2 separate regions of the Homo sapiens genome follow, and region 2 is linked to region 1. The links are contacts of gene promoters, found by promoter capture Hi-C in human tissues and cell types (Jung and others, 2019). All regions are on one chromosome and are shown on one strand. Each heading gives the region's core, a stretch centred on a gene start or on the middle of the fragment in contact. The rest is flanking DNA. Distances are from core to core; before and after follow the strand shown. Region 1 holds the start of CHST4 (carbohydrate sulfotransferase 4). Region 2 overlaps CALB2 (calbindin 2).

Region 1 (4,141 bases), core at 1,151-3,650:
CCCCAAATCGGTACCATGTAGCCTCGTAGAGACAAAATGGGAAATTCTGAGGGGGAAAAAAACCAGATAGATACTAATTTAAGAAGTCTGGGTTCCAGCCACTGGATGCATTCCTAACTTACACTTCCCATGAGATTATGCCCCTTACAAGTAGAAATTAGATACAGCAGAAGATACCTTGAGCAAAGAGAGAGAGAATGGGGTTGGATTGGGGAAACTGGCATCCTCACAAGCAGCCTGAAGACCTGGAAAACCTCTGAAGCTAGGCACCTGGGTAAAGGGTGTCCATATAACAAACTCTTCCTAGACAGTGTCAGGAGGATTGGACCTGGGTCCCGCCAGGGCTGTGTCACTAGTGCCAAGGACAGTGCATGGCACATAGTAGGTGCTCAAGGAACATCTTTCAACAAATGACAAGTGAACATATATTTGTACAGTGTTTTTTTTTTTACTATATGAGACCCAGAAAGGAAGATTGAGCAAGATATTATAAACCAAAAATAAAATTCTAAGGCCCCCCAACCATCTGAAAGGACTTCCTCCTCAGCCAGGACTCTTTTTTTTTTTTTTTTTTTTGAAATGAAGTCTTGCTCTGTTGTCCAGGCTGGAGTGCAGTGGCACGATCTCAGCTCACTGCAACCTCGACTCCTCAGGTTCAAGCGCTTCTCCTGCCTCAGCCTCCCGAGTGACCTGGCTAATTTTTTGTATTTTTAGTACAGACATGGTTTTGCCATGTTGGCCAGGCAGGTCTCGAACTCCTGACCTCAAGTGACCTCAGTCTCCTAATAGTGCTGTGATTACACCCATGAGCCACTGTGCCCAGCCAGGGGTCTTTTTAAAATTTAACCTGAGAGACTGTTTCAGGCCATGACAAGAAGTGGGGATCTAACATGCCTCATCATACCTCTCCAGCATTAACACCAACACAGACCTTAAGTCTGATAAGAAACATTTTACAACCTATTCTCTCTGAAGCCTGCTATCTGAAGGCTTCCTCTCAGTTGCAGTGAGCCGAGATCGCACCACTGCACTCCAGCCTGGGCGACAGACCCGTACTTTTTTCTTTTCTTTTTTCTTTTTTGAGATGGAGTTTTGCTCTTGTTGCCCAGGCTAGAGTGCAATGGCAGGATCTCGGCTCACTGCAGCCTCCCGGTTTCAAGCGATTCTCCTGCCTCAGCCTCCTGAGTAGCTGGGATTACAGGTGCCTGCCACCATGCCCAGCTAATTTTTTTGGTATTTTTAGTACAGACAGGGTTTCGCCATGTTGGCCGGGCTGGTCTTGAACTCCTGGCCTCAGGTGATCCACCTGCCTCAGCTTCCCAAAGTGCTGGGATTACAGGCGCGAGCCATCGCGCCTGGCTAGATGTATTTCTTAAATGTATTTGATTGAAGTCTCATGTCTCCCTAAAGTGTATAAAACCAAGCTGCACCCCGACCACCTTAGACACATGTTCTCAGGACCTCCTGAGGGCTGTGTCACCGGCCATGGTCACTCATATTTGGCTCAGAATAAATCTCTTCAAATATGTCACAGAGTCTGACTCTTTTCATCGACAATATTACATTTATTTTACACATAGAAAAGTATTTCAATTCCAATTAGAAGTTTCATACTTGTCCAAGGCCATGCAAGATAGACGTATCTTCTACCATAGCTGATATGTTGGCACCATAACTTAATCATATTGCACATGTGCGTGGTGTTCCACATTTTTAAAGCCCTTTTAGCTGCAATTATGATACTGATCGGTTAGATATTTTAGACAGTGATGAGACATTTCTTCATTTTTCAGAATAAATAAACTAAACTTTAATTGACTGGCTCATCCGGTATAAATAGCCTTTTCTGGATCAGAACCCAGGTTTTGGGGATCCCAGGGCTGAGAATTTTCAATGATCACACTGTCCCTCTCCTGAGCTAGAGAAAACCTACAGCTCCTTGCACCTCCTGTCTTCCACTCCCCAGCAGAAAACAGAGGAGAAGCTGCAGGAAGTACAGAAATTTGAGCTCCAAAGCCAGGATCTGAACGAGTCAGTTGGCACCAGGGGACCATCTACAAAATATACATCAGAACAGCCTGATCTGCTCTCTGGGCTCTTTTGGACCCATTTAGGGATAGAGCTAGTGGGGCTTGGGGGCTGCTGGTAAGCAGCTTGTGTTTTATTTTACCCAGAAAATTCCCCAGGTGATCTGATTTATCCCCTCTGCGCAAACCGCCTTCGCCACTGTAATCTCTAGCTTAGCTGCCAGAGGTTATCTGATACTCTTGCTCCAGCAGCTCTGGGTAATGGCTCTGCATTGGAGTCGTACACAGAAATTCTCTTCTTACCTTGTGGCTTGGGCTTCCCTGCTGCTTTTGAGAGGCTCACTGCTAGCCGGGCCATGCGCTTTTCTCCTCTGACTCACCAACTCCCCTCTTGGCTTCCTCCTCCTACTTGCTTTTGCATAACCGTCCCTACTCAGAGCACATTTCACTGTCCCTCCCTTCTGCCAAAAACAAAAAAGGACCCACCTTGCAAGACGGGCTTGAGAAAGCACTCGCTCCCAGGAAGCTGTGAAAGTAACAGCTTTAACACTGCTGAGACTCAAGGGGTGGGGAGACTGCTTGAGGTGGGCTGGGAGAAGCAAATGAGGAAGCATTTTCCCCCAGACTGGAGGCATCCTGGCATGTTGACTACTGAAAGGCAACTGTGAAGGTCAACTCCCTATGGGCAGAGTGGGGAGGTGGGGAAAAAGAGAAAGAGAGAGAGAGAGACCCAGGGAGCTAGTAGATGAGGCTGATAGGGAAATTTCATGACACTTACAAGCCGAAAGGCTACAAAATCTCAAACCTGATTTTTAGACCTTGTTCTTATCTCCAAGGAGAAAATGTGAAAGTTATTTCTTGCATTACACCTGCCTGCTCACTCCACCCTGGGTCTAGGGAGGTAACATTTCTCAGCCTCTGTGTTGTATTCAATATCTTCACCCTTGCTACAAGAGGTAATAAATATTTTCTGGGAGGACATAGATGTACTGGCTTGGTGGTACAGGAGAAAAAAAAGTCCCCTTTAAGAAAAAAAGAAACAAATTATCATTAAAGATTACAACCTCTCCCTTGCTGTGTGCCCTTGGGCAAATCACTTACCTACTCCGTGCTACTTTACACGGTTGTCATGAGTCTGAAACAATGGATGCCCGTGAATAAACGTAAATTGTGGTGGAGAATGGAAGCCTCAGACTTTCAAGTCCAAGATCTTGCCGGGCAAGTCATACCACCTCTTTGAGCCCTAGAATATCATCGGTGTTAAATAAGGGTAACAATATCTATTTTACAGTATTGTTGTGAATGTTAGGATTAATGCGTATGAAGCTCCTAACACAATAATATGACAATATAAGAGTTAAAAAGTGGTTGAATAATAATACCTTCCCACCGCCACCCACCCCCGCAACTCAGCTGCCACTTCCTTTTCCAGACCTTGGAAGAGAGAGAGAGCAGGCAGGGAGTTGTGTGAGCTTTGGGATGATCTTTGCCGATTTCCATCAGCTAAGTCCGCTAAGCACAAATGACAAGAACCTGTGGTGCTTGCCTTGACTTGATTTCAATTGTGTGGCTCTTCCTCCCTTCCTGTTTCTCTCTGGCAGAGAGAAGAGAAATTTCTCTTCCTCCAGTGAAGGACTTTGGGCAGAGGTGTAACTGGAAGCACTAGAACTGGGCAGTCGGTAGTTTTGCTTTTATGCACAAAGAGATGATTCAGGTGCTGGCACGACACAGCGAGATGGCACAAGGCTTCATCATGCTACTCAGAATAGTATGTAATAAATGAACTGTTTATTTCTGTAATTTTCCCATTTAATATTTTCAAATCGTGGTTGATGATGAGTAGTTAAAACTGGGAAACAAAACCGTGGATAAAGAGGGGACTCCTGTAGTTTTATTCCAGCCCTTTCTAACATTCTTTTCGTGTTTTTCCAGCGCCTTCCCAAATATAGTGAGGTCACTCAAATACACCATAACCCCAAGTAATTCAGATCACCTGCCATCTTTCCCGTGCTAGGAATTCATGCTGGCAGAATGCCAAGCAGCTGAAGAAAGGCATCCTCTGGTCACTAGTATACGGTGGTGACCAGCATGTTCAGATACTGGACTTCCAAGGG
Region 2 (4,141 bases), core at 1,049-3,548, 160 kb after region 1:
GGATTGGGGTGGGCCCTAAATCCAGTGGTCGGTGTCCTTGTAAGAAGGCTTCATGGAGACACAGAGACCCAGGAAGAAGACCATGTGAAGATGGAGGCAGAGGCCAGTGTGATGTGTGTACAAGCCAAGGAACGCTGTGGGCTGCCAGCAACCACTAGAAGCCAGGAGGGAGGCAGGGAGCAGATTCACCCTCAGAGCTCTAGCAGAGCCTGCCGACACATTTATTTCACACTTCTAGCCTCTAGAAATGTGAGAGAATACATTTCTGTTGTGTTAAGTCACCCAGTTTGTAGTGCCTTGCTATAACAGTCCTAGGAAACAAAAACAGAAGGGCCCAGAAAAGAGAGAACCACAGGGCATCTGTCCTATGGGATGTCACCTCCCACCCCCTGCCCTACCTGAGACTTGGTCACAGGGATCAAGGGTAGGAGAGGCATCCCACCTGGTAATGAAGAGAGGAGGCTCTGAGGCCTGTGGATGCAGATTTAAAGACTGGTTCTGCTGTGCTTACCAACAGTGTGACTTTGAGACAGTTATTGAACCCATCTCATCTGCAAAGTGGGTTATTATAATTAAACAGGATTTTGTGTGGAAAGCCCATCCTCTAGTCATTATGAGTGCAGCATAAATGTTGTTACTGAGTTCCATTACCAGAACCCGTGCCTAAGGTGGGAATGAATCTGTGGGAAAAGTGCAGTGATCAGAACCAGGTCCCGAGGTCACAGCCTGACTTGCGAGATCACATAAGTAGTGAGAGGTCCTTTAGGCTCTCACGCCTTGAGCCTGGATGGTCTACTAGAGACCAGGACTGAGCTGAATGCATGGTCAAGGTCACTGGTCAGTGCTGTGATGGGGAAGGAGGCATTTGTGGGTGGGAAATCAGGCAGGGCTCAGGCCGTGCCTCCTAGACTTTGCTGTGGCAAAGAATCTCCTGGGGATTTTTCCTTTTTTTTGAGACAGGGTCTTGCTGTGTTGCCCAGGCTAGAGTTCAGCACTATTCATAAGTGTGATCATAACATACTACCGCCCCAAAATCCTGGGCTCAAGTGATCCTCCTGCCTCAGCCTCCCAAGTAGCTGGGATTACAGGTACCTGGCACCCAGGGATCTTAAAAAAAATATGGATATCTGGCCCCCACCTCTAGACTTTCTGATGCAATTTGTTTGGGGTGTGAACTAAGCACCATGATTTTTTTTTTTTTAACACTCCCAGGTGATTTCCTGTGCAGCAAAGTTTGAAAACCACTGACCTAACATCAAGTTCCAAATTTGATCTAAAGCCCTTGAGCAAGATTCCCGTAGAGGAGATTCAACTCGAATGGGAAGGGAGGTGGTAGCTTTCACCAAGGGCAAATGGAATTACAAACGCAACAGAGAAAATAAAGGAGCATTTACCCCAGCCTCTGTGAGGGGTTGTGGGGGGAGGCTTTTCCCAGCCTCTCCTCCTAGGGCCCCCTGAGAATTTAAATTCTTAATAAACTTAGAGGCACTCTCGAGTGAAGAATATGCCACAATAAATATTGTATGGCACGAATCACATGAGATAAATTATGTATTTTTGTCTGCAGGGAAAAGACATGATTGCAATGGGCTCGCAGAATGAGATTTGAGTTCCCTTTTATCCTAGGATGGGGTGGTTATCTTCCTTCTAGGATGTTTGTAAAGCTTCTTAGGAGAACTGGAATTTCAGAAGAGTGTGGTTCCTGTGAGGCCGGCTAAAGTAGGGGAGTGAGGGACAGGGAGATGGGCTTTCTAGGCAAAAAGACATCGTCTAGTTGATGATGCTCTGAGTTGGAAGAATGAGTAATTTTTCTCTTCCTGGTTACTCCCTGCAGCGATCTGGCTATTCTCCTATCACTGAGGTGCAATTTCTTCTCAACTGAGAAGGCAAAGTCACATTCTTCTCGGAGGCTTTGTAGAGTCAGACGGGGAGGTGGAAAGCTGAGCTCAGCCCTGGGTGCATCTGCAGCTTCCAGAAGCCCGAGGCTAGGGCAGGAGGTGGGGGCTCAGAGCTGGCACCACGAGTGCGTGTCATGGTTCAGTGAAGCAGAGGCCACAGGAGCCAGGGCTGGGCGGACACAGGAGCGAGTATATGTTTCATGAGTGTATCGGGAGGTGGCTGAAAGGAACTGGGTAGGGGAAGCCCGCAGAGCAGCATGGTATGTTTCCAAGAGCCGCCTCCACTTAGCTCTGAACAGGGTCCGTCATCCCTCTGTGGAGCCCTGTTTTGCACCAGGTCCTTCATGTTCTGCCATTTCTTCTCTGGCCCCTTCACCTACCATTTGGGGGGCGGCAGAGTGACTGGCCTTTCTTGCTGAGGCACCGACACCTGGTTCTTCTCCTCCCTCTGTCGTACCCAGATTAGAGGACACCACCTCTGTGAACCTCAGTTTCTTCTCCTGTGAAATGGGGACAATGATAGCACCCTCCTCATGCAGCTGCCATGAAGATTAAAGAGGATAATAATACACTCGCAGCGCTGGCCTGCAGCGAGCCTCAAACATGCCGGCGGACACTGCCATTATGGCTGCTGTTTGTGCTTCCCGCCCATGCTGCAAACACCTTGGCCCTGGGCTGCTTTCTTCAGGTTGGAAAGATTTAGGGGAGCAGAGGGAGGCTAGAGCAGGCAAGGCTAGCACGGAGCCCCGCCCCACTGAACGCTCTGAACCCAAAGAAGTAAAGTACAGATCTCTAGGGGCCATCTTTTCCTTGGAGTTTTTCTGGAACTTAGAATAAGTATTTATTTTTACTCCATCTTTTTTTCTAGAAAGGTTTGAAGGAGGTTTAACAACCTCAAGAAACTCAGACAATCATCCAGTGCCTCGCCCAGCAGGAAAGTGCTGAAGGTCAGTGGAATGTCTTTAACTTTTCAAAGCGCTTTTGCCGTCTTTCTTTGCTCCAGCAGATAATTTGAGCCCTCACTATGGGTAAGACCTGTGTGGGTTGCTGTGGGGGAAATGAACCCACACATAATCTTTCCAGACACACGGGCATGGCAGAGTAGAATCCTTTTCTGGTGACAGAAGACACTGAGGCACAGGACACAGAAGGCAAGCAACTTGCTCAGGACCACACAGCCAGGGAGGACCAGAACGGAAGTGTCCTAATTCCTGATCCAGGCTTAATTCACTCATTCATTCATTTGAGGAATTTTTTTATTTTTATTTTATTTTATTTTTAGACAGGGTCTGCTCTGTCACTCAGGTTGGAGTGCAGTGGCTGGATCACGGCTCAGTGCAGCCTAATGTCCTGGGTTCAAGCCGTCCTCCCACCTCAGCCTCCCAAGTAGCTTGGACGACGGGCACATGCCTGAATAATTTTTTGTTTGTTTGTTTTTGGTAGAGACAGGGTTTTGCCATGTTGCCCAGGCTGGTCTTTAAATCCTCCACCTGTCTTGGCCTCCCAAAGTGCTGGGATTACAGGCGTGAGCCACCGTGCCTGGACCATTGGAGGAACCTTTATTGAGCATCTGCATTGTGCAGGCACTGGAGGTGCAAAGGCCAGCTAGGTCCTGCCATGGTGGGGCTTATGCTGTAATGGGGTGTGGGTGGGGCAGGGGACAGATAATAAGCAAGGAAATGAATTTAAACATGGTGTTTCCAGTGTCGAGAGCAATGAAAGAATGATGGTGTCATAGAGTAGAGATCGACTTCCAGGGCTTCTTGGAAAGGATGAGCAGGGAAGACCTCCCAAGAAGCCTCAGCCTCTGGGAAGGGGGCAGAGAAAGGAAGGAGGAAAACTGGAGGCAGGGAAAGGGGTCCAGGAGCTAGAAGGGCAGCCCTGTGGAGAGAAGCCGCCTCTCTGAATTCAGCTTGTGCAGCACAGGCAGCAGGAGGTTCCCGGGGCAGGAGGAACCCCCCTCCCCACACTAGGAATTCCACTACCTCCCTCTGGGCACCTCAACAAAAGGCAGAAATGTGGTTCAATGCAGTAAGCCTTGATGTTTTGAACTGAGCCACTGTTCCACTTTGTGCCTGGTGCTCAGGGAGCTATCACCAAGTTTTAGATGTGGGCCCATTTCCCAAGAGCATCAATGGTCAGCCTGGGAGAGGCAGGCAGACAGGCAGCTGATGGCAGACAGTGAGGAACACAGGAGAGATCGGCAGGTGGCGCTGCAGGGCCCAGAAGGGACACTCCACACC

Evidence for each region. Contacts are between HindIII fragments. The study calls those that stand out against the background at their distance.
Region 2: a fragment that was not itself captured here is called in contact with the fragment with the promoter of CHST4 in region 1 in 1 of the 25 tissues and cell types used here (thymus).

What each region holds. Positions count from the first base shown.
Region 1 is chr16:71,524,685-71,528,825 of GRCh38, reverse strand. It overlaps CHST4 (carbohydrate sulfotransferase 4), which reads right to left and starts at 2,400. Exons shown (of 2, transcript NM_001166395.2): 1 at 2,331-2,400. RefSeq lists an enhancer at 2,157-2,767. The HindIII fragment of the contact is 30,806 bases long and covers 1-4,141 here.
Region 2 is chr16:71,367,543-71,371,683 of GRCh38, reverse strand. All of the region lies in intron 1 of CALB2 (calbindin 2), which reads right to left. It overlaps LOC105371332 (a long non-coding RNA gene), which reads left to right. Exons shown (of 5, transcript XR_933714.3): 4 at 2,767-2,845. Among named protein-coding and RNA genes, the nearest start is that of CALB2, 11 kb to the right of the region's middle. RefSeq lists an enhancer at 4,044-4,141. The HindIII fragment of the contact is 3,725 bases long and covers 436-4,141 here.